5 separate regions of the Homo sapiens genome follow, and regions 1, 2, 3 and 4 are each linked to region 5. Evidence: promoter capture Hi-C in 16 types of primary human blood cells and fetal thymus (Javierre and others, 2016). All regions are on one chromosome and are shown on one strand. The core of a region is centred on a gene start or on the middle of the fragment in contact, and the rest is flanking DNA. Distances in the headings are between cores, read along the strand shown. Region 1 holds the start of CLCN5 (chloride voltage-gated channel 5). Region 2 holds the start of WAS (WASP actin nucleation promoting factor). Region 3 overlaps OTUD5 (OTU deubiquitinase 5). Region 4 has its middle 8.4 kb from the start of UBQLN2. Region 5 holds the start of TSPYL2 (TSPY like 2).

The links. Contacts are between HindIII fragments. The CHiCAGO score rates a contact against its expected background, and 5 or more counts as called.
Region 1: the fragment with the promoter of CLCN5 here is called in contact with the fragment with the promoter of TSPYL2 in region 5 in 1 of 17 cell types (neutrophils); the score reaches 7.0 in neutrophils.
Region 2: the fragment with the promoter of WAS here is called in contact with the fragment with the promoter of TSPYL2 in region 5 in 1 of 17 cell types (monocytes); the score reaches 5.6 in monocytes.
Region 3: a fragment that was not itself captured here is called in contact with the fragment with the promoter of TSPYL2 in region 5 in 1 of 17 cell types (monocytes); the score reaches 5.0 in monocytes.
Region 4: a fragment that was not itself captured here is called in contact with the fragment with the promoter of TSPYL2 in region 5 in 1 of 17 cell types (monocytes); the score reaches 5.5 in monocytes.

The regions. Positions count from the first base shown.
Region 1 is chrX:49,920,451-49,925,092 of GRCh38, reverse strand. It overlaps CLCN5 (chloride voltage-gated channel 5), which reads right to left and starts at 2,497. Exons shown (of 15, transcript NM_001127898.4): 1 at 2,301-2,497; 2 at 1,611-1,686. RefSeq lists a silencer at 2,186-2,235. The HindIII fragment of the contact is 4,286 bases long and covers 1,734-4,642 here.
Region 2 is chrX:48,680,609-48,685,176 of GRCh38, reverse strand. It overlaps WAS (WASP actin nucleation promoting factor), which reads right to left and starts at 1,378. Exons shown (of 12, transcript NM_000377.3): 1 at 1,192-1,378; 2 at 754-894. The coding sequence starts at 1,323. The HindIII fragment of the contact is 18,512 bases long and covers 1-3,427 here.
Region 3 is chrX:48,924,714-48,929,587 of GRCh38, reverse strand. OTUD5 (OTU deubiquitinase 5) reads left to right here. Exons shown (of 9, transcript NM_001136157.2): 6 at 3,538-3,741. Among named protein-coding and RNA genes, the nearest start is that of PIM2, 8.1 kb to the right of the region's middle. RefSeq lists an enhancer at 1,493-2,131. The HindIII fragment of the contact is 737 bases long and covers 1,876-2,612 here.
Region 4 is chrX:56,552,913-56,557,473 of GRCh38, reverse strand. No RefSeq gene overlaps it. Among named protein-coding and RNA genes, the nearest start is that of UBQLN2, 8.4 kb to the left of the region's middle. The HindIII fragment of the contact is 892 bases long and covers 2,571-3,462 here.
Region 5 is chrX:53,079,226-53,083,859 of GRCh38, reverse strand. It overlaps TSPYL2 (TSPY like 2), which reads right to left and starts at 1,493. Exons shown (of 7, transcript NM_022117.4): 1 at 555-1,493. The coding sequence starts at 1,361. It overlaps GPR173 (G protein-coupled receptor 173), which reads right to left. Exons shown (of 2, transcript NM_018969.6): 2 at 3,245-4,634. RefSeq lists silencers at 1,119-1,168, 1,199-1,248, 1,519-1,628. The HindIII fragment of the contact is 18,116 bases long and covers 1-4,634 here.

The DNA.
Region 1 (4,642 bases), core at 1,248-3,747, 3.2 Mb after region 5:
TCTGAACCTCTCTTTCAAAGATATGCAGGCATGGGTAGTGTCAAGTTTCCCTCTAAGCAGCAAGGTATCTCTGAAGAGAGAGAGATCTGGAGTGAGTTAATGTTGCCACTCAGTGCTATACATTTCTGCATGAATCATTAGAGCTTCAGTAAATGAGGTCTGAGTCTCAGTTGATGAGTTGCTGGATGAAATCACCGTTAAGCACCTTTCCTACCTTGAAGTTTCATGCTTTGGAGACTGAAGAGCAACATTAATATCCAGTGCCCTAACCAACCCCCAAAATACCCAACTTTACATTTAAAAATCAGTAGAAGGAGAGGAAAGTTTATGAATAAAGTTTGGAAACAGATCTTGTATAGGGGAAAAAAAAGGAAGCGGAATAAAAAGTGAAGAGTGATGATACCCTTTGAGTAGTAGTTCTCTCTCCTTGTGTCATTATACTTTCCCACCCTTTGCAAATTTCCTATAGTGAGCGTATATTGCTTTTATAATCAGGGGGAAAATGAACCAAAGAAGAAGAAAAATGTAAAAATGGAATACCAGTTTAAAGAAAACCAAATTAATTCAGCTAATTCCTGTTGTTAAAACTTCAAATCCAGTCCTAGGACAATATTTGCAAAGATATTAAAGGAGTTAGGGGCCGGGTGCGGTGTAATCCCAGCACTTTGGGAGGCCGAAGCAGGCGGATCACCTGAGGTCAGTTCGAGACCAGCCTGGCCAACATGGTGAAACCCCGTCTCTACTAAAAATACAAAAATTAGCCAGGTATGGCGGTGCACTATAATTACAAGTGACGCCTGTAATCCCAGCTACTCGGAAGGCTGAGGCAGGAGAATCGCTTGAACCCGGGAGGGAGGCGGAGGTTGCAGTGAGCCAAGATTGTGCCACTGCACTCCAGCCTGGGCGACAGAACGAGAGCCGGCTCAAACCAAAAAAAAAAAAAAAAATAGGAGCTAGGAATGGGAGAAAAAATGAGAGGTCTGACGACTTAGTTTGACTTAGAGGCTTAACACTCTGCTTGCCCATTTAAACAAGATCTCAGTTAATAAACTGGTCTTCCCTACTTAGCATACAAGCCAATCTGTTTTTTCTAAAAGTCTTCACCTTTTTGACCTGGTGAACATCAAAGTAGATTGTTATTTCCATATCTTTTATACAACCAACACCTCCACCTCCTAAGTGAAAGTGCTAAAGCACAAACACTGAAGGCTAATACTAGCTTGAGAATCGTGTTGGCCTTCTTTAATGACAAAAGGGTTAATGTGTACACCAGTCCCAAAACACCAACAGAGAAAAGACAGTGCTTTGGACAAGGAAAAGTTCGCGAAGTCCAAGAAAACTAGGAACTCACAAACTCCTAGGGTGAATTCAGCAGGAAAAAGCGCTCCGATGACTTCTCTGAGACCTGGGACAGTCTGTTTTGATTTGCCTTTTTTCTTCTCCTATTTCGCGTGCAGTTAAGAAGTAATGATCATCGTCCCGTGGGACTAGGCGAAATTTAACATCCCTGAAGTTAAACCCGAGCAGTTGCTAATAAATGTATGAAGTTTATGTAAAGTTGATTCGTGCTGGTTTTTTATGCTCCAAACTTCTAGATTTCCCTCACTTACTCGGGGCAGCTTCCACTGACGTTATCGCACGGGCACAGGTACAACTTCACTGGGAACTCCAGGCAACTGATTTGCTCTGAAATGTTAATCAAAGGAAACGTGCGTCAATGTAAAGGCAAAGCTTTTCCCGTGTGGATCAAGGCGCTCAAGAGCAAGGCTCGAAAGTCTGGAGAGAACCAGCTACGCGCGTTAAGTGGCAAAAGGAAAACAGCGCAGCAACTACTTTTCCGAGAGTTTCTCCACTTTGCTAAGACCCATACAAAACCAGCGGCAAGTCCAGAGCCGGAGGGAGAAGAGCCGGGCCTCGGCTGAGCTTTGCCAGCCTAAGTCACCCTACCCCAGTCCGGGAAAGGGGACGCAGGCGGCTAAACACTCCGATTCAAAAGCGGGGCGGGCTTGGCGCCGCTCCGCAAGGAAACTTCGCTCGGGCAACCCAGGGACCATAACTCGGAGAACAGGGCTGGGCTCCCGGGAAGACGCCGCTCAGCACTGGCTGGAACTAGCCTGTCTACCTCCTCTAAGCGCCGGGCTGCCAACGCCGGGCGCGGGGAAGCCCCATCTCCGGGGGTCCAAGCCAGCGGGATTGCGCTTCCCCTGTGTCGCTGCGCTTAGGGGGTGCTCCGGGGGTGGGCCGGGGGCCAGCGGCCCGCCAAGGACCTGTTGGGGAAGGGACAGCCCGTTTGCCTTTACCTGTCGCCGAGGTCCGGAGCGGCGGAGCCCGTGTCCGCCGCCGGTGGGCAGCGCGCTCGGTCGGCTCTGGCGTCCAGGACACCAAGTTGAGTGAGCGCCCCACGTAGCCGGCAGAGCTTCATTCACACAGCCCAGCCGGGGAGGAGGGGGAGCGAAGCGGGCGCGCGGCTCATGTGACAGGGCGCCTCGCGAGTATCGGCTCAGCCCAGCCAGCGTCTGCGCGTGCGCGCCACGCCGAGCTCACACCCGGCACCTCTACCCAGCCGAGATGAGGGGAGGCCCGCCGGGGAGGAGCTGCCAGGAGGAGTTTCAACTTGCGCAGCCGCAGTACGTCGGCCCCGCTCGCTGCCATATTTAATGAGGACTGGGCGGGCGGGTCCTATCCCAGTGCTGGGCGTGTCAGTTGCCTTTGAAAACGCAATGCCCCATTGTGTTTCACTATTTCCAGCTTGCAGTGCCTTTTTTTGCTGGGGAGAAGGTTTGTCCTTAGAATGAAACTGTCTATCCTGAGCTTTCGGCCCACAGAGTAATTAGTAGTAGAAATCTAATACTAATAACATTAGATCACATAATTTGAGCTGCTTCTTATGTGCCAGGCACTCTCCTAACCCCTTTACTTTTTTCGTCTCATTTGGTGTTCACAATAACCCCGAGGGTTATTTCTCCATTTTTACTCATAAAAATACACAGGCACAGAAAGGTTAAGTAACTTGTCTAAACTCATATAATAGTAGGAATAGGAATAGTGATCAAACGTAGTGATACTTTTAACAGCCAACTTGATGTTTCCAGCAACGCTGCAAAAACTATACTGCAGTTGTTAGTACTGTATTATCTCCATATTAATCATTACAAAACAGAGGCTCAGAAAAGCTGAAGTCACAGGACTAGTACGTGGTAGAACTGGGAATCCAACCTAGGTCTAACTTACTCCAAAGCCCTTACCCTAGGTTTGAAAGAAACAGCACACCGTTTTGCAGAAGAGAAAACTTAGGCCAAATGGGGTGCACTGACTCACTTAAGATGATCCAGCTAATTAGTTCTTGGCAGACCTGAGACTGGAATCCATATAATCCAAGTAATCTAACTAGAACCAGGGTACTCTACTGCAGTGAACAATTTGGAATGCCTACTTTGGACAAGCTAAGTGGTCAGGGATTTAAAAACCCCTATCCTAGCCCAATCAGCATAAGGCTACCGGGGACAAATTTGTAATCCGACATAGTCAGGCTTTGACCCATTGCAATATGAGAGACTGCACACGGTAGGCATTTCATCAAACAGAAAAACATGGAGTCATTATAGGATTGGAGAGAAGAGTGGAGTTTAGGTGAATTTTAAACAAAGCAGTGTTTTTGGTAAGCTCAAAGCAAAGCAGTACTGTCATTTGGGGTCACCATCAGGTCTGAACTGCAAAGTGAACCCAGAGTTGTGTTTCCTTGGGAACCACAAAATAAAGATAGATGTGGAATGTTGTGTCCAGATACCCCTTATCTGAAGCTCTGCACCTGGGTTGGAAATTGAGGCTGCTTCTCTGTGTCAAAGAAACTTATGTCCTCCAGATGCATGTGGGATGTTTCATTCTTACTGATACGATTTCAAGCAGAAAAGTTTCTGATAATCTACGATTTTAGAGAACAAAGTCTCTCAGTGAATAAAAAAGTGGTGGTCACTGAAATAAAAACATCGTTACCACTTTACAGCTGCAATATGTCCGCCAAAGAAATATTGTTCTCTGTTAAATTTGCATCTGGTTTTATCTGTGTGTTATTCCGGCCTGATGAATGGCCGGATTTTTATTTTTTCAGTCCAAAATTTTTTTGCTTTCTGAGCTGGTAACATTCAGTCCCTTCCTTCAGGCACTCATGGTGTATGGGATAGCCACAAATAACTAGAAAATATCAGTACAGGCCTCTAATAAAGGTAAATCCAAGTGGAGGTAACACCGTTGGCAAAGGTGAGCAGGCAGGAAGTTATATGTGAGGACCCGTGAGTAGTCCTATGTGGTTGAAGTTTAGGGTAAGGAAGTACAGGGGAATTGTGGAAGATAATACCCAGAAGGTAAATTGGGGCCCAATTTTGGAGCATCCTGAATATTGGACTAAGATTTATACCTAATTCAAAAAGTGACTGAGAAAGAATTGAGGTTTCTGAGCAAGGCAATCCTCTTTTGGAATTCATCTTTTAAAAGGTGAATCTAGAGTAATTGTTCAAGGAAAGGTTTGATTGTTTGCTTGATTTTTTTTTTTGTCATTGAAGTAGAAGAAACTGGAGCTTATATGTAGGTCGAGCAGAAAAACTACTGGTGAAATCAATAATAAAGAGGCAAGAGGCCGGGTGCA
Region 2 (4,568 bases), core at 129-2,628, 4.4 Mb after region 5:
TGGAGTTGAGATTTGAAGTTCAGACACATAGACTTGGGAGTTTCGCGGGGAGTCCAGCTAAAGTAAGTGCAATTTGGGGTTTGTGGAGAGAGTTATGGTTTAGGAGTTTGGTGGATATTTGATAGCCTTGGGATCTGGAAGTTATGCTGGGTCCATCTTTATGGGTTTAAAAGGATGAATTTGGGGCTTAAACCTAGAAAGTTCAGGTCAGGGGATTGTGGAAAAGACTTTTTGCTTAAGAACTACCTCGGTATTTGAGTGTTCAGGAATTTTAATATGGGAACTCTGGGGTCTGTGCTGTGGATTTAGAAGGACAGATTTGGAGTTCAAGGATCAATGGAATATTCAACTTTGGGGTTTGTTGAACAGATTTATGACTTAGGAGCTTGGCAAACATCTGGGGTTCAGGAGTTTTGATGAGAGATTCCTGGGATGCAAAATGTTGAGTTTAGAATAGATTTGAGGTTCAGGTACAAATACAGTGCTCATTTATTGGAATTTGTGGAAAAGATTAGGCTTAGGCAGCAGACTAATACTGGGGGCTTTAGAGATCTTGATACGGAGACTGGGGCCAGTCATTGCAGACTTAGAAAGGCAAGTCAGAGTTTGCCATCTGGATGAGTCTTTGGTTCTGGGGCTCAGGGATTCACTGATCAGGTCTGAGGTCTTGAAGCTATGGACACATATGGACACAGATCTGGGTTTGCGGGTTGAGAACTGGCTTGCAAGTCCAGTCGGGGGTGGGGGGGTCACCTGAAGGCCGTAAAGGCGGATGAAGTAGGACTTCTGGGGGTTATCCTTCACGAAGCACACAGCCCCACAATGCTCCTTGGTCCAGTGCTCAGCTCCAGGGGGCAGCGCCAGGTACAGCTGAACAACTGCAGTGGCCAGCGTCTGGGAGAGGAAAGCAGGGGTCAGTGGAGTCTGGTCAGGGGTAGCCACAAGGTCTTGGAGCCAGACCTGGTCCTTCCTGCCTCATGACAGTCATGGGCCCAAAGGAAGAGCTGCAGCCAGAGGGAAGGCAAGTAGACATTGAGATCTTCCTGGGAAGGGTGGATTATGACGGGAAATTCTAGGAGAGGAGATGATGGAGAGGGAAAGGAGGAGCGGGAGGAGGGGAAGAGAGAGAAGGAGGAGAGGAAGAGGAAGAAACGGTGGGGACGGGGCGGGGGCAGGAGATCCCCAGCTCACCAAGCATTTTCGTCCAAGCATCTCAAAGAGTCGCTGGTTCTCGTGGTCCTGGAGGAGGGTGGAGGGTATGTTCTGCTGAACCGCTGGTGCTCCTCGGCCCCCGGGCCTTCCTCCCATTGGGCCCCCACTCATGGTGCTTTCTGCCCTTGTCTTCTCTGGCGAGGCTCTGGGTGCAGGGTAAGAAGAGGAACTTCCGCAATGAGCAGCAAGGGAACAGGAAATGCAAAAAACCACAAGGGACAAGGGAAACAAGTCCTCCAGGGGCCCCTTGGTGGGCCTGGCCTCCTCGTTAGGCTGAGCTTGGGCCCTCCGCCATCAGATTGGAACCCTCCTCCACTTGACTGCTTAGACCCACCTTTTGGATCAGCTTGGGTCCTCCTCCCCCTTTCTTACTCTCTGGGGCCCATCTCCTTCTGACTGGCTCAGACCCTCCTCCCTCTGGCTGGCAGCGAGAGCTTAGCACATCTGTGTGCAGGGCTCCCTGTGGCAAGGAGTAGTCATGGGCCTGGGTGGCCTCCTTTCTAAAGCACCTAGGTAGCCTGAGGCTGAGGCCCGAGGTCCCTAGTCCGGAAGGGTTACTACAGTAAAACTTTTCCTTTTGGCTGGGGACAATAGCTCACACCTGTAATCCCAGCACTTTGGGAGGCCGAGACGAGTGGATCACTTGAGGTCAGGAGTTCAAGACGAGCCTGGGCAACATGGCAAAACCCCATTTCCACTAAAAAATACAAAAATTAGCCAGGCATGGTGGCACACACCTGTAGTCCTAGCTGCTCAGGAGGCTGAGGCAGGAGAATCGCTTGAACCCAGGAGGCGGAGGTTGCAGTGAGCTGAGACTGCACCACTGCACTCCAGCCTGGATGATGACAGAGCAAGACCCTTGTCTCAAAAACAGCAACAACAACAACACAACAAAAACCCTTTTCCTTTTAATTACAGAGCGAGCCCCTGTGATCCACGCCTATCGTGAGTGCTTAGACACTGCCAATGACGCATATGCCTCTGGTCCACTTCCCCATCCCTTACCCTTGCCTCCCCGCAGCTCCCAAATTACTTTCTGCTTGTCATACTTTTTTTTTTCTTTTTTTTTTTGAGATGGAGTCTCACTCTGTCGCCAGGCTGGAGTGCGGTGGCACGATCTCGGCTCACTGCAACCTTTGCCTCCCGGGTTCAAGTGACTCTCCTGCCTCAGCCTCCCAAGTAGCTGGGACTACAGGCACACGCCACCACGCCCAGCTAATTTTTTTGTATTTTTAGTAGAGACAGGGTTTCACCATGTTGGCCAGGATGGTCTCGATTTCTCGACCTCGTGATCCACCTGCCTCGGCCTCCCAAAGTATTAGAATTACAGGCGTGAGCCACCGTGCCCAGCCCATCCCTTTTTTAAAGAAAGGAACTTTATATCATATATGAATGCCTGAACAACATCTTGTTTAGTTTTCATTGCACTTGAAGTTTGTAAAAGCACATAATCTTCAAAGGCTTGCTTTCTCCCCACTGGACATCCTAGTTTTATCTTAACACTCACATAGCACTTAACGTGTGTGCCAGTCACTGTTCTGACCCCTTTGCCCGGAGTGCGAGCCAGGCAGGCCAGGTGTGAGTGCATGGTCTCGTCCCTCCACGCCTTCACTCTTGGCTGTTGCTGTGATTCCTGTTTGCCTATAGTGGTAGCTGTTCATTTATTTCCACTGCCATACAGCATTCCATGGTGTGCATGTGCAGCCTGGGTGTCCATATTCTCCTGTAACAGCCCTTTGGGCTGCTTCTGGTTCTTGCTGTTGGGAGCAACACTGCAGTGTTCACTCCCGCACACATCTCCTGGTCCACATAGGCATGCAGACTCTCAGACGGGAATCTGAGGGCTGTAGGGTTTGCATGTCTCTAACTTCTCCAGATGATGCCAGACTATTTCCACAAGTGAATGCTAGCTCAGTCCCCGGCCTCCCCAGGCCTCAGTTTCCCCATGTATGAGGTAGGCCATTTGGAGACTTGAAGCTCTCAGATACAGGAACAGCAGTTTGGGGGAGCTGAGCAGGTCTGGGGTGTGACTGACATTCCCAGGTACCTGAAGGAGGAACGGCACATCTCCAGTTGGGACCTGCAGTCCTTCCTGGAAACTTCCATGGCTTCCCACACGTGCAGGTTCAAAGCCTCTCTCCTGAACCTAGGTTCAGAACCCCTTCTGCAGTGGCAGTTCCAACCTCCCTCCCGTGTCCCCACTCACAGCTAAGCTTCGGGCCTGGAGCACCTCCAACCTGCTGATCAGGGCAAGCCCCGATGTGGCCTTCAAGGCCATTGCACGTGTTCATTGTGACACTGCTCACTGAGCAGTCAGTGTGTGCTAGGCGTATCTCCAGCATTTGGACAGATGACACTAAATGGGTATTGAAGCATTGAATGAAGGTTCAGTAATGATATCCAATTTGATTCAGTGGTTCCAGAGGCTTTTCTAAGTGCTTTCCATTTATTAACTCATTTCACATTCACAGATGACCCCACAAAGTAAGCACTACTGGCCGGGTGCGGTGGCTTACGCCTGTAATCCCAGCACTTTGGGAGGCCGAGGCAGCCAGATCACGAGGTCAGGAGTTCGAGACCAGCCTGACCAACATGATGAAACCCCGTCTCTACTAAAAATACAAAAATTACCCTGGTGTGGTGGTGCACACCTGTAATCCCAGCTACTCAGGAGGCTGAGGCAGGAGAATCACTTGAACCTGGGAGGCGGAGGTTGCAGTGAGCCGAGATCGTGCCATTGCACTTCAGCCTGGGTGACAAGAGCAAGACTCCATCTCAAAAAAAAACACAAAAAACGTAAGCACTACTGTTACCCCATTGTACTGACTGGGAAGCTGAGGCCCAGAGGAGCTTGGGTGCCTTGCCCGAGGTCACACAGCTTGTGAGTGGTGGAGCTGAGGAAAATTATGAGAGAAATTGTTGTTCCCAAGCTGTGAGGTGCCACATGGAGGCCAAGATAAAATTCTTCTGCTCCTTTGTGTCTTTTATTCTCCACCTTTCTACTTCTTTCTCGGCCTCCAGAACTGTCCCCTTGAATAGGGGATGCTAAGCCTCTGATATATTTGCTGGTTGTTGGTGTTGTTGTTGTTGTTTTTAATGTGAAAGCAAGTTTATTAAGAAAGTAAAGGAATAAAGAATGGCTACTCCATAGGCAGAGCAGCAGCTTGGGCTGCTGGACTAAGGATACTTACAGTTATTTCTTAATTATATGCTAAACAAGGGGTGGATTATTCATGAGTTTTCCAGGAAAGGGGTGGGCAATTCCGGGAACTGAAGGTTCTTCCCCTTTTTAGACCATGTGGGGTGACTTCTTGATGTTGCCATGGCACTGTCATGGCGCTGGTGGAAGTGTCTCT
Region 3 (4,874 bases), core at 995-3,494, 4.2 Mb after region 5:
TACCACACCTGGCTAATTTTTGTATTTTTAGTAGAGACGGGGTTTCATCATGTTGCCCAGGCTGGTCTCGAACTCCTGACTTCAGGTGATCTGCCTGCCTCGGCCTCCCAAAGTGCTGGGATTACAGGCATGAGCCACCGCGCTGGCCATAGATCTCCTAATTTTTATTTTATTTTATTTTATTTATTTATTTATTTTTTGAGACAGAGTCTTGCTCTGTCACCCAGGCTGGAGTACAGTGGTGCGATCTCGGCTCACTGCAACCTCAGCCTCCGTGGTTCAAGTGATTCTCTTGCCTCTGCCTCCCGAGTAGCTGGGATTACAGGCACGCGCCACCACGCCCAGCTAATTTTTTTGATTTTTAGTAGAGACAGGTTTCACCATATTGGCCAGGCTGGTCTCGAACTCCTGACCTCAGGAGATCCACCCACCTTGGCCTCCCAAAGTGCTGGAATTACAGGCATGAGCCACCGTGCCCAGCCTTCCTAATTTTTTTTTAAATAGCATATATTAAGGTCCACTCTTTGTGTTGTACATTCTATGGGTTTTGACAAATGTGTAATGTTATGTATCTACTATTACAGTATTATTCAGAATAGTTTGACCACCCTTAAAATTCCTCATACTCCATATGCTTACCCCTCCCTTCCTCCCTCTTCCTGCAAACACTATTGTCTTTGTGGGTTGCCTTTTTCAGAATGTCATATAATTGTAATCATACAGTATGTAGCCTTTTCATACTGTTTTTTTTTTTTTTTTTTGAGACAGTGTATCACTGTTGCCCAGGCTGGAGTGCAGTGGCACAATATCACTGCAGCCTTTACCTCCTGGGTTTAAGCAATCCTCCCACCTCAGCCTCCCAAGTAGCTGGGACCACAGGCACACACCACCATGCCTGGCTAACTTTAAAAATATTTTTATTTTGTAGAGACAGGATCTCACTGTGTTGCTCAGGCCAATCTCAAATTCCTGGGGACAAGTGATCCTCCCGCCTTGGCCTCTCAAAGTGCTGGTATTGCAGGGGTGAGCCACCTGCAGCCAATTTGCTTTTTTCCCCCCTGAAATTAAAATGGTCAATGTGACAGACTGCTTCTTTTCACTTAGCAGTATGCATTAAGGTTTCTCCATGTTCTTTCATGGCTTGTTAGCTGGTTTCTTTCTTATCACTTAATGTTCCTTTTATGGAGGTACCAGTTTAATTATTCACCTATTAAAAGACATTCTTGGTTGCTTCCAGTTTTTGATGATTATGAATAAAGCTTCTGTAATGTGCATGCAGGTTTTTTTGTGGACGTAATTTTTTAGATCAGTTGTATACATACCTGGGAGCAAGATTGCTGGATTGCGTTGTAAGATTATGTTTTGATTTATGAGGAACTGAGAAACTGTCTTCCCAAGTGGCTGTATTATTTGCATGCCCACCATAATGATTTGGAAGTTCCTGTTGTCAGCATTACCAGCAATTGATACTGTCATTGTGTTGGATTTTAGCCATTCTCTTAGGTGTGTAGTGGTATCTCATTATTTTAACTTGCAGTTGCCTATTGGCAAATGCTGTTGAGCATCTTTTCATATGCTTATTTGCCATCTGTATAGCTTCTTTGGTGAATTGTGTTTGTGACTTCCTGACATACAATTCCTAAAATCCTTAGAATCTGCAAAGTGTTGCCTTTTTGTATGCTAATGAGGTGACTGATGGCTGGCAGCCTCTAGGTAGCTTCAGGATGGGGGCTGGTGACCTGAAAGACCAAGGCAGGATTAGAGGTTTGCAACTTTAAGCCCATCCCCCAGCCTTTGGGGAGGGGAGAGAGGCTGAAGATTAGGTTGATCACTAGTGTCCAATGGCATAATCAATAATGCCTGCATAATGAAGCTTCCAAAGAATCCCAAAAGGATTGGGTTCTGGGAGCTTTTGGGTAGCTGAATACATGGAAGTTTCTAGAGGGTGGCACCCCAGGGAGGGCATGGAAGCTCCACGTCCCTTCCCCCATATCTCACTCTGTGCATCTCATCTGTATCCTTTGTAATTTTCTCTATAATAAACTGGCAGACGTGTTTCCTGGGTTTTGTGAGCTGCTCTAGCAAGTTAGTTGAACCCCCAAAAAAGTATTGTGGGAATCCCAATTTATAGCTGGTCAGTCAGAAATTCTGGAGGCCCAGACTTTCGACTGGTGTTCGAAGGGGGTTGGGGGGAGTCTTGTGGGACTGAGCCCTCAACCTGTGGGATCCCAGGCTGTCTCTGGGTATTGAATTGCATTGGAGGATGGACACCAGGTGTCCGCTGCTTGCTGTGTGGGAAAACACCCTCCCCCCAGCCCGCACACTTGGTCACAGAAGTCTCCTGTGTTGATTGTTGTTGAGTGAGAGTAGAAAAAACACTTGGAGTGTGTTTAACACTGCCAGAGTGGTTAGATTTTTTGACTATTTTTTTAATTGGCTTGTTCTAACATAGTTTTACGAATTGTTTTTAACTATTCACAGTAAAAAATTACATTTTATCTGAATGCAAGGTCTGCAGGAAAAAGAAAAGAATACATTTTACATGATTACTTAGCATATATGCATTTGTGTGTGATGTGTATATGTGCATTAAAATAATGTTAACTAAAGCTTCATGAAACAACATTTGCACTTATTCCCTGGGATATATTCTGATATTTTCTATTTTTTAAAAATGCTGTTGGATCTCAGCCTGAAAAACAGTACTCTGATGTAGTGTCCTGTAACTCATAGCACCCCACACCATGTTGATACTGCCCCCTTATTCCCTCACACACCCACTACTTCCCCCAACCCCTCACATGCTTGAATACTCCCTCCACCCGGTGCACACATAGCTAATTTTTGTATGTGTCTCATCTGCTCATGTGTGTGAAAGTCCTCAACATTATGAAACAGTCATCACTGGATGGGGCTTCTTTAAATTAAGGCCCAGGGCCAGGTGCAGTGGCTCACACCTATAATCCCAGCACTTTGGGAGGCCGAGTCGGGTGGATCACCTGAGGTCAGGAGTTCAAGGCCAGCCTGGCCAACATGGTGAAACCCCATTTCTACTAAAAATACAAAAAAGTTAGCCGGGGGTGGTGGCACTCACCTGTAATCCCAGCTACTTGGGAGGCTGAGGCTGGAGAATCCCTTGAACCTGGGAGGCGGAGGTTGCAGTGAGCCGAGATTACCCCACTGCACTCCAGCCTGGGCGACAGAGCGATACTTCGTCTCAGAAAAAAAAAAAAAAATAAGTCCCAGGTTGGAAGGCACCTGACTGCTCCAGTCTCAGTGCCTCAGTTGAGGTGGTTTGGGGGTTAGAGTCAGGTCTTACAAGCATAGGAGTTTGGAATGACAGGTCCCACATCCCAAGCCTGCTTTCCCTTGGTCCCCAATCAAGAGGTAGTCTGTGGAGTGTTGCTCTTTGGGAGTACCTGCTTTCCTGTCTCCTTTTTTTTCTGGGGCCTGTGGGCCTACCTCGCTGAGCCTGTTCTGGCTCTTGGGCAGGTTCAGTGTGTTATTGCACATCCCTGTTCCTCTCCCTCCTTGCAGTTTGCAGAGCAGTCTCTGATGAAGAATGCCATAAAAACATCGGAGGAGTCATGGATTGAACAGCAGATGCTAGAAGACAAGAAACGGGCCACAGACTGGGAGGCCACAAATGAAGCCATCGAGGAGCAGGTGGCTCGGGAATCCTACCTGCAGTGGTTGCGGGATCAGGAGAAACAGGCTCGCCAGGTCCGAGGCCCCAGCCAGGTGGGTCATGGACTCTGTCACAGGCTTGGCCAAAAACTCATTACTTCTCATGCTTTGCCCTCAAGCGAGCAGAAAAAAATTAAGCAGTTTTGACATCTGGGAGGGAAGGAAGCATCCAGCACCATCTGTAACTCATCTTGGTCTTAGTTTTGGCATTGTACCTTGGAACTTTAAATACTTGTGCAGAACAGGCACTTAAGGAGTGAGAGGAGGGCAGCCATGCTGCTGGTGACACGAGAATAATGGATAGCTTCAGAGACACAAGCTTTTGTTGACTGCCCTTGTGTGCCAGGTCTCTACTGAGAATGTAACATCAGATCTGGACTACTCTGCCCTCAACGATCTCGTCTGTTGGCAGAGACAACTCAATGGTGGGGTCCTTGACCCTGACTGGGAGATCAGTGGAGGTGGGGGCTCCGGTTAGTCTTCACAGAGGAAGGTTGAATTGTTAGGGGAGCGGGGAGGGGCGGGGCAGACAAGCATCTGAGGAATTGTAAAATCGCAAGGAGTTTGGAGTGATTGTAGATGTTGGCTGGCAGGAGCTGAGTTTTTTTTTTTTTTTTTTTTTGGAGACAGAGTCTTGCTCTGTCGCCCAGGCTGGAGTGCAGTGGCGCAGTCTCGGCTCACTGCAAGCTCCGCCTCCCAGGTTGATGCCATTCTCCTGCCTCAGCCTGCGGAGTAACTAGGACTACAGGCGCCCACCACCACGCCTGGCTAATTTTTTGTATTTTTAGTAGAGACGGGGTTTCACCGTGTTAGCCAGGATGGTCTCCATCTCCTGACCTCGTGATCCGACCACCTCGGCCTCCCAAAGTGCTGGGATTACAGGCGTGAGCCACCGCACCCGGCTGAAGGAGCTGAGTTTTATTCCACAAATACCTACTACCAGTCTGTGGCAGGCCCTGTTTTCAGTATATGGGGATACATAGGTGAGCCCAGCAGACCAAGATCCCCGTCCTTGTGATGTTCACAGTTTTGCAGAGTGAAATAAAATAATAAATATAATGAATAAATTAGTTGGGAAGTGCTATGGATGGAAAGTGTAGAGCCAGGATAAAGGGGCTGAGCAGGAATGTGCGTTCACGGTATGAAATAGCGCAGTCAGGGTAGGCCTCAGAGCAGGTGAGATTTGA
Region 4 (4,561 bases), core at 1,767-4,266, 3.5 Mb before region 5:
CTGAGAAAATGTGAGATGGCAGTGAAAGTCTGCCTCACTGTGCTGTGTAGAATCGGGTTTTATATTATAAACTGTGGCATAAGTTGCATTTCATGAGTGCCTTTCAAAAGAATGTAGAAGTACTAAATTCCTTTGAGATTTAAAAAATCAATAGAGGGAAAATTAAAATGAAAATAAAAGGTAAGAGAAAAAATGCTCAGGGATAATTAAAAATGAGTACTATAGAGGACCAGGTATAGAAAAAGCAGAATCGATGTTTTATCAGAAGGTAGAAATGAGTAGAATGTCTGCTACTGTCAATCAACCTCATTCAGACCAATAAGGTAGAAATAATAGACAAAGTGGAAGTGTCAGAAGGTGAGTATGAAGTCATTAAGGCCTAATCCCTCTAATAATAGAATAGTAGCCATAGGTGATTTTGTGGCCATGAAAAATGCTCTGGGACTGACACAATTATATAAATATACAAATAATTACCCAGAGCAGAAGTTAAGTTTCCAAGACAGTCCTATGAAGCCTAGTTGACTTATAGCATGATTAAGAGTAGACATTAGCTACATTATAATCAAATGGTAATGTGTTACCATTGAAAACATTTTATGTGAAAATGCATCCCAAGATGCAAATCAGAATACTGACAGAAATAAACCTGGCAGCAGTGGGAGGAGGTGCTTTCTCCACATGCATTGTATGTGAATTCCCAAGACTCTAGAGATGGACTCAAAATCAGAGACGGAGGGAATTATTATGACAAAGTCTTTACATTCCCATCTATTTGTTTATTTATTAAATGATTTCAGTGCTTATATTTATAAAAACAATAAAAAGGAAAATACTTGCTAGCAATGAGTAACATTGATATTTAGGTAAATAAACTAATAGGGAAAAAAACTCCCAAATGAATTTTAAATTAAGTCTTACTTATATGTCTAGTTTTATCAAAACCAATAATATATTTATGCTTTTGATAAATTTTGTACTAACAATAATTATAATGATAATACAAAACAATTTTTTTCAATAAGTTGTTTTATTTCTTTGGGGTTTTTCAACATGTTTATTATTTTAATTGACATAATTTTATATATTATGAGGAGCAGTGTAATGTTTTGATACATGTATATCATGTATAATGATCAAATCAGGGTAATTAGCATATCCATCCCCTCAAACAGGTATCAGTTCTTTGTGTTGAAAACATTCAAAATCTTCTCTTCAAGCTATTTGAAAATACAAAATAAATTATTGTTAGCTATGATCACCCTACAGTACTATGGAATACTAAATCTTATTCCTCCTGTCTTCCTGTAATTTTGTATCCCTTAACCAACTTCTCCTTATCTTCCCCTCTTTTCTACCCTTCTTAGCCTCTAATAACCTCTATTCTACTCTCTACTTTCATTAGATCAACGGTTTTAGCTTCCACATGTGAGTGAGAACACACAGTATTTATCTTTAATACAGAACAGTTTTATCCTTTAAAATTAATTTAGTTTGTATAATTTTTGTGGTAGAGAAGCATGAATAGGGTGATCAATGAAAGGCTTTTTAACATAAAATATATAAAATTAGGACAAAAATTCTGTGGAGAAAACAAATAGAGATATTAAAGAAAAATATTAAATATCTTCTATTTATAAAATAAATAGAAATATTAAAGAAAAAATGTACAACATAAATTTTTCAACTGTTAAAGAAGAATCTGTTATTATATTTTAAAGATGCATGAGGCAGATCTCAAGTTGCTATAGTATTTAGGGTCTGCTGGATACATTTAAGAGGCTGACGTGTTAAAAGAAAACTTTGGAAAATTAAACAGAGTTTAATTAAGCAAGAAAAAAAAATTCACAAATTGGGCAGCCTCCAGAATCACAGCAGATTCAAACAGATTCCTGGGAAGCCTTGTGGTCAGAATAAATTTATAGACAAAACAAGGAAAGTGATGTACAGAAATCGGAGGTGAGGTACAGAAACAGCTGGATTGGTTACAGGTTGGTGTTTGCATTATTTGAACAGAGTGTGAACACTCAGCAGTGTATGAGTGGTTGAAGTATGGCTGCTGGAATTGGCCAAGACTCAGCTATTGTTACAGGCACACACTCCTAATTTAGGTTTTCAATCTTGTCTACCTATTAAGTTAGGTTAGAAATGGTCTACAAAGACTCAAATATAGAAGTACAGAGCCCTTCTCAGGCCATATTTAGTTCGCTTTAATGGACGTAACAGTTTATTTCAAAATGTCAATATTCATAATATCCCAGAAATTGTATTCTTGCAATTATTTAAATATACGGTGACAAACTTTAGATGTCAACTTCAGTATGTCTCAACAGTTATTTAAGTGTTGCCTTGCTGGCTTTTGTTATGTTTTGCAGGTCCAAAGGTCTCACTTTTACCAGCTGCCAGAATAGTGCAGGCCCTGAGTTACTGACTCACACAAATGAAACAGCAGATGAGACTGAGATAGACGGGAGAATGCCAATTTATTATTTTCCAGTGAGAAACAGGACTGTGATGCCTACCTAAACTACTTATGTGTATGCATCCAGCACATTTCCCTTCTCAAAGCTTAAATAGGAAGCCAAATAAAAATCAGAACTAGAAAATTAGAGCTACTTGATTGCCCTTTGAATGTAAATTATAAGCCTACGTCATTAATCAGAGCAGACACAAGCAAAATCATCTGAAAGACATATGATGGGATATAGCAGGATGGTTGTTGGGTAAACCATGATTCATAAGATCATAAACTAACAGTTTAATGACATAAATCAAAGCTAGTGCTGTGCATTCATCTCCCAACAGAGATGATATTGATTATAGGGTTGAAAATACTGGAAGTCAAGTGGCTAAGGCACCTGTATCCATTGGTTGCTGCCAATCCTTACTTCAGGGACCAACTTTTCCCTATGCCTTTGTGGTTCATTCTTTCTTAAGATGCTAATACAGTCAGCCAGGTCACAGTATACTTATACTTTAAGGGCCCAAAATTCATTTTGTCTCCTCAGATAATTTTACATCTGTGTTCCTTGATTAGTGATGTGCTGATCCTACAACATAATCCTCAAAATACACTCAAATAGCTCTCATTTTCTAGTTCTTGAGGTGGGGTGTAGTTGAAAGGTAACTTATAGTCCCTTACTGACAATGTTGCTCGGAAAGAGCAACATTAGTCAAATAAGCAAGTACAGTTTATTTTCAGTTAGAATTAATAACTTAGTAATACATTGTTATGGGAGAAGTTTATAGGGTCATGATACCAGATGGAATACATAGTTACACGTTCACAACATGTAGGTGAAAGTTTAGTGTGTAGTGTAATAATCACTCAAAATACACAGAAATAATCAAGGAGAGAATAGCTGGTAAAACATAACTTGGAAAGAAAGTGACAGGAAATATATCTGACTGGATGGAGAAAAACTAGAAATAACCAAAAAGAGAAGATAGGAAAAATAAGCTTCTGTGAAGAAATGCAGCCAGAGGACATTAGCCAAGGAAAGAACTATACTGCATGATGATGACATAGGCAGAAAAGGATAGAGAGTGAATAACAAGAGTCATGAAACAGAAGATGAGACAAAGAATATTTGAATGGTAGTACAATTTTAAATGGGTTTCTAAATGAAATCCAAATCCTCTTCAGAAGAAAAATAGTGCAGAGCATGGGGCATAATCTGAGGAGAATAAGAATTCCAGACTGAGAGGATTTAGGATAGCTTTAGGATTCCGAGAAAAGAGGCAATGGGAACTTTCCTGACATAGAAAAACCAGGTTAAATACAAATAGGTTACAAAATTTTGTAGCAAGTTTTGGACTGGGGTAACTTCCTATCAGTCATTAGGCAAAAATAACAACTCAATTTTTGTTTGTTGTTGGATTATTAAAATTTTCTGTTGATTTTGCTCAACAGATAAAAAATTAGAATGGAAAGCATAGAAATGAGTGATTTTGATGTGTATAAATTTTTGAATAATGTATAGATTTTCTGAACAATATGCCTCAAAAAATGAAGCAGCCATCGAACCAGAAAAGCTAAGTTAGACATATGAATACAGGGAATTAGTTAATTCATCTGAACACAGAGAAAGCCAAGTTACTTTTGAATAGAAACTTTAATTATGTCTCAGAATAAAAGAATAAGTGCAATAAATGAGAGAAGGCCCTTGGCAAAGTGGACAAGCATATTGGTAGTAGGTCAAAGAGAGTACTTTAGGTACTTCAGGTCAAGAAGAGAAATTCTCCCTAGAGCCTGAACTTTGTAGGTATGAATATGTTCTGTGGAAAAATCACCTTTTACAATTTTCTCTGGAAATTAGGTAAGTAACAATTGTGCAGATGACATTGAGTGGATTCAAAATCTTAGGATTTTCCAGTAGCTGTGCTTCCAGGATTTTAAAAACATTGTGTATTACTTCTTAGAAGACATTTATAATTGTCCATGTAGGGACGTGAAGAATTGTCTGGTCAAGGCAATTGTTCAGTGGAAACAGCAAAGTGATGAGAATAATTATGGAAATAATTATGATGCTTTGGTGATCTTTAGCTAAGGGGTAGCAAT
Region 5 (4,634 bases), core at 244-2,743:
GGCTCCAGCCCCCCTCCCTCCAATGCAAGGCACTCCAGCCAGGATTGGGGTCTCCTAGTATCTTAAGCAAAAATCTAGGTTTACAGAGCCTTGTATGGCTCAAGCACCCTTTCTGGGCAGTTTCTCTGCTGTGTGCCATTCCCCTCCCTCTTCAAGGTCTCTGAGTCAGTTCATCTTCTACGTGCCCCTCCCCTCCTCCTTTCACCATCTCTGGTCCAATTTTTTTGCTGTGTGCCCCTTTACTACCCTCCCCCTTTTTATCATCTGTGATCCTTTTTTTAATGCTATGTTCCTCCTCTTCCCCCTTTCCCATCTGTGGTCCAGTTTTTATGTCCGCCCCCCCTCCACCACCCTTCATCATCTCCAGTCCAGCTTCTCTGCTGTTTTGCCCTCCTCCTTCCATCCCTCTTCCACCCAGTCTAGTCCGTCTTCCGATAGGGGGATCATGCCCACCTCTGGCTCTCCTCCACCCGCTTTACCTTTTCTGTCCCTCCCCCACCTTCCCCTTTCCTGTCACGGGCTTCTGACCTACGGAGTATCGATTAGAAGGATACTGCTTTGACCCAGAAGCCTGGGATATGCTGGATGATGAGGTCTCTGCGCTCCAGGAAGGGTCTTCGCATCTGGATGAACTTGCGCTTGAGACGCAGGAAGGCTTTGCCTGCCTTGATGTTCACTGCCTCCAGATCCAGCTGAATATCCTCCAGTGCCTGCAGGATGCTCTCCATCCTCTCGGCATTTCTCTCTCTGCTTTCCCTCTTCACCTTCCTCTGCTTCCTCCTCCGCCGCCGCCGCCGCCTCCTGCTGCTCCTCATACTCTCCCGCTCATCCTCATCCTCATCCTCCACTATGATGATCGCCTCTTCCTTGCTCTTCGGGTCAACTAACCTCTGGGGCGCCCACCCCACTGCGCTACAGGTTTCTAGGGCCCCCTCTCCACCAAAACTGCTCGACTGTACAACCTGAAAATCGATTTCCAGGCTCCCCCCCGAGGCCTCAGGAGTGGGGAGTGCTTCCAGGCTCTCCGTGGGCGGGGGCGCCTCCCCATACCCCGACTCGATGGTAGAATCCCAGCCGGGACACTCAGCACCGAGCGTGAAGTATGCGCGGATCCCCCCCTCCTCGAGAATGACATAGGGAGGCGGCGGGGGCAGCGCGGGGCCCAGTCCCACCCCCCTCATATCGGCCAGCACCTGTGCCGCCTCCGTTTCCTCCTGGAGCCTCGGGCGCTGCTGGGGTGGAGGCAGCGGCAGTCGGAGGAGCGGCGGCGGCGGCGGCGGCGGGGGCGGGTCGCGCTGTGGAGACTCGGAGCTGCTCAGGCGGCGGGTCTTGGCCGGAGGCCCCTCATCTGGGCGGTCCATGGCGACCGCGTTCGTACAGCTCAGGGGACTCGCACTCGCCCCTTCGCTTTTAGCCGCGTCGCTGCCGCTAGTCGCACCGGTAAGCAGAGCTGAGGAGACTCACGCAACCAGCTCTCCTCACCACCTCGCTCTGGCGTTCCCTCCCACAGCGCCCGCTCTACTCCCTCCGCGCCAATCGCCGAAGCCCCGCCCACTCCTGACGCAGGGGTCCGCTCGGCCTGGCCATTGGCTGCCGGCCGCCGCGGCGGCGATCGCGCTCCCGCGACCCCTGCCCGCTCTCACGCAATCCGCTTGCCAACACCACACATCATCAGTTTCCGATTGGCTCCCCTCGGGCCCGCCAATCAACGGGCTGACTCCCTCAGCGACGGGAGGGAAACTGCAGGGCGATTGGCTGCGAGGAAAGCTGGGGAAGAAGCCCCTCTCCCTCACCCTCTCAGCGTTTTATCCAATGGGAAAAGTACCAGTGGTTCTGAAGACCAAAAAACGAGACGAAAAACAAACGCAGGCGCTGAGCAGGATGTGCTCACATGAAATTGGAAGAGCCTCGTTATCGTTCCCCCCGCCCCCCTCCCCTCAGCAACTACGCACTTTTAAAATCTGCCCCTTCCCCCATTTCCTTCAGCTCCTTCCCCCACCCCCGCTTCTGCCCCTTCCCCCATCCCGGGTCCTGCCCCTTCCCCCATCCCAGCTCCTGCCCCTTCTCCCACCCCCGCTTCTGCCCCTTCTCCCATCCCCCACTGCTGCCCCTTTTTCCATCCCCGCTTCTGCCCCTTCCTCCACTCCCCGTTTCTGTCCCTTCCCCCACCCCCCGTTTCTGCCCCTTCCCCCATCCCCCGCTTCGGCCCCTTCCCCCACCCCACCCCCGCTTCTGCCCCTTCACCCCCCGCTTCTGCCCCTTCCTCCCCCGCTTCTGCCCCTTCCCTCACCCCCCCTTCTGCCCCTTCCCGCATTCCCTGCTTCTGACCCCCATCCCCCAACTGTCTCTTCCCTCACCCCCACTTCTGCCCCTTCCCCTATCCCCCAACTTCTGCCCCTTCCTTCACCCCCCAACCCCACTTCTGCCCCTTCCCTCACCCTCCCGCCCTCCGCTTCTGCCCTTCCCCTATCCCCCAACTTCTGCCCCTTCCCTCACACAACCCCTGCCCCCCGCCCCCCCGCTTCTGCCTCTTTTCCTACCTTCCACTTCTGCCCCTTCCCCCACCCCCCACGTTTGCCCCCTGGGTGAACTCTGCTGTAGCTCCTCGGGGGCTCGGGCTGCCCTACCGCCTGCGCCTGCAATTTAGGCACCCAGGGTGTTTGGTTTGGGGGCCAGGTTTTGACGTGGCGTTTTCCATCTCCGCAAAATGGCTCTACAAATAATAATCACACACACAAAAAAGTAACTTCCTCTGCGTCATAAAAATGATTGTGATTCAGCTCATCTGCTAGAATTTTCTAGCACTTTCTGTCTCTTCATTTCTCCCCCTTTCCATCCTTTCCTCTCCCTTTCCCCAGTGTATGCTGTATTTTAAGATTTTTCTTTTTAAACCAGAGATGGATGGTCTTTTGTGAGGCATGGTGGTGGAGGGCTGGCTTTGGTGCTGGGATTCACATCATGGGTGTGCCCCTCATTTTGTAACCTTAACCAAATCACTGCCCCTCTCTGAGCTTCAGTTTTCTCTCCCCTAAATTAGGCATCCCTCAAGAGAGGTGTAGGTAACTGCCCATTGCAGCCTTGTCGCGGAGCAGAGAGGAGACCTAGGGATCCATCATCAGGGGAGTGGATAAGAAAAATGTGATATATGTTTTAGATGGACCACTAGAATGAATTAGATCTATATACGGCAACATGGCTGGATCTCTCAAAGACAGAATGTTGAGTGAAAAAAGAAACAACAAGATTTATAGTACAATACTGTTTATGTAAATTAAAACACACAGCAATACCATACATTTTTCACAGATACACATATATGTAAATAAACACATGAACGGTGGATTGGAAGGACGTACGTTAAATACACGAGAGTGGGTGCCTGTGTAGGGGGCGGGGAGGATGGGATCAGGAATGGGTGATGAAGGGGACAAAACTGAAGAAAAAAAAATAAAAGGGCCTCACATGGACCAATGATGATATAGTGTGCCAAGAACTGAGGAGTATGGTCAACTCAATTCTGTGCACCTGAGAGAATAACCAGATAGTAAATTAACTGTCTAGGGAGCAGGCTGGCTGGGTAGACTCCTGGGCTTGGGTTTTTTTTCCCCATGACATCCCTCCCTCTAAATTTGGTCAAAGCTGACCAAAGTCCCAGCTGCATACAGTGGCCCCTAGGAAGGGCTCCCATCCCAGACTGAGCAGTCCCTCCAGAAGCCATTACTTTGTGGGGGGCATTTCCTAACCTCATCAGTTTCCCTCACATTTGATCCTCAATTCCCAGTCCCCATTCTCCATGGTGGTCCAATTTTAGGAACACCTTGTTTGAGTTTGGGAAGGAGACTGAGACGGGGTTGAGATGGGGCTACAGGCTTTGTGAGGAGATGAGGTTTTCAAGTTCCCTGGCGGCCCCAGCCCTCCCGTGCTCAGGGCCTGGGCCAAGGGAGGCCCATCTTGTGAGATGGGAGTCTACCCTCTTGCTACCGACCTATGTAGTTTCCAAGATCCATCTCTTGACCACTCGACTTCCTACCACGGGCACATACTCTAGTTTGTCTCCTCTCAACTGTGGTGTGTGTGTGTGTGTGTGTATGCATGCACGTGCTGTATCTGTCCCCATATACAGGCATTTTACGTGTGTGCACCGGGCAAGTTTTCTTCAGGAGTGCCTCCCCACACAAAGTCACACAGACACACACTATCACTCAATCATGTCTCTCCACATGTGGTCAGACAGGGCACATGCACGCACGCACGCACACACACACACACAGTCAGAAAGAGAAAACATCCAGTATAGCATTGTTCATTTCAGTTTTTCCATTTACAAAATCCAATGGTGAATCCAGGCAGTTAGAAAAAAGAAATGGAGGAAAACCCTCCTAAATGTACCCTATCTACCCCCCACCCCCTTGGTCTTCCCACCCCACCCCCTCGGAAAGGCACCCCCATCACTATCGCTGAGAGAACAGGCTCCCCTACTCCCAGCCTCTCAGCCACTCTGGCCTGCCTTTCCAGGGCCACTCTGCAGCCAGGCTCATTAATGTCTCTCCTGCCTAGAGTGCCCTCCCCATTCTGTATGGGTCAGGCTTCCCCAGTTCTGGGGCTCTCTTGGGCTAGGGAGGGAGTTTAGGACA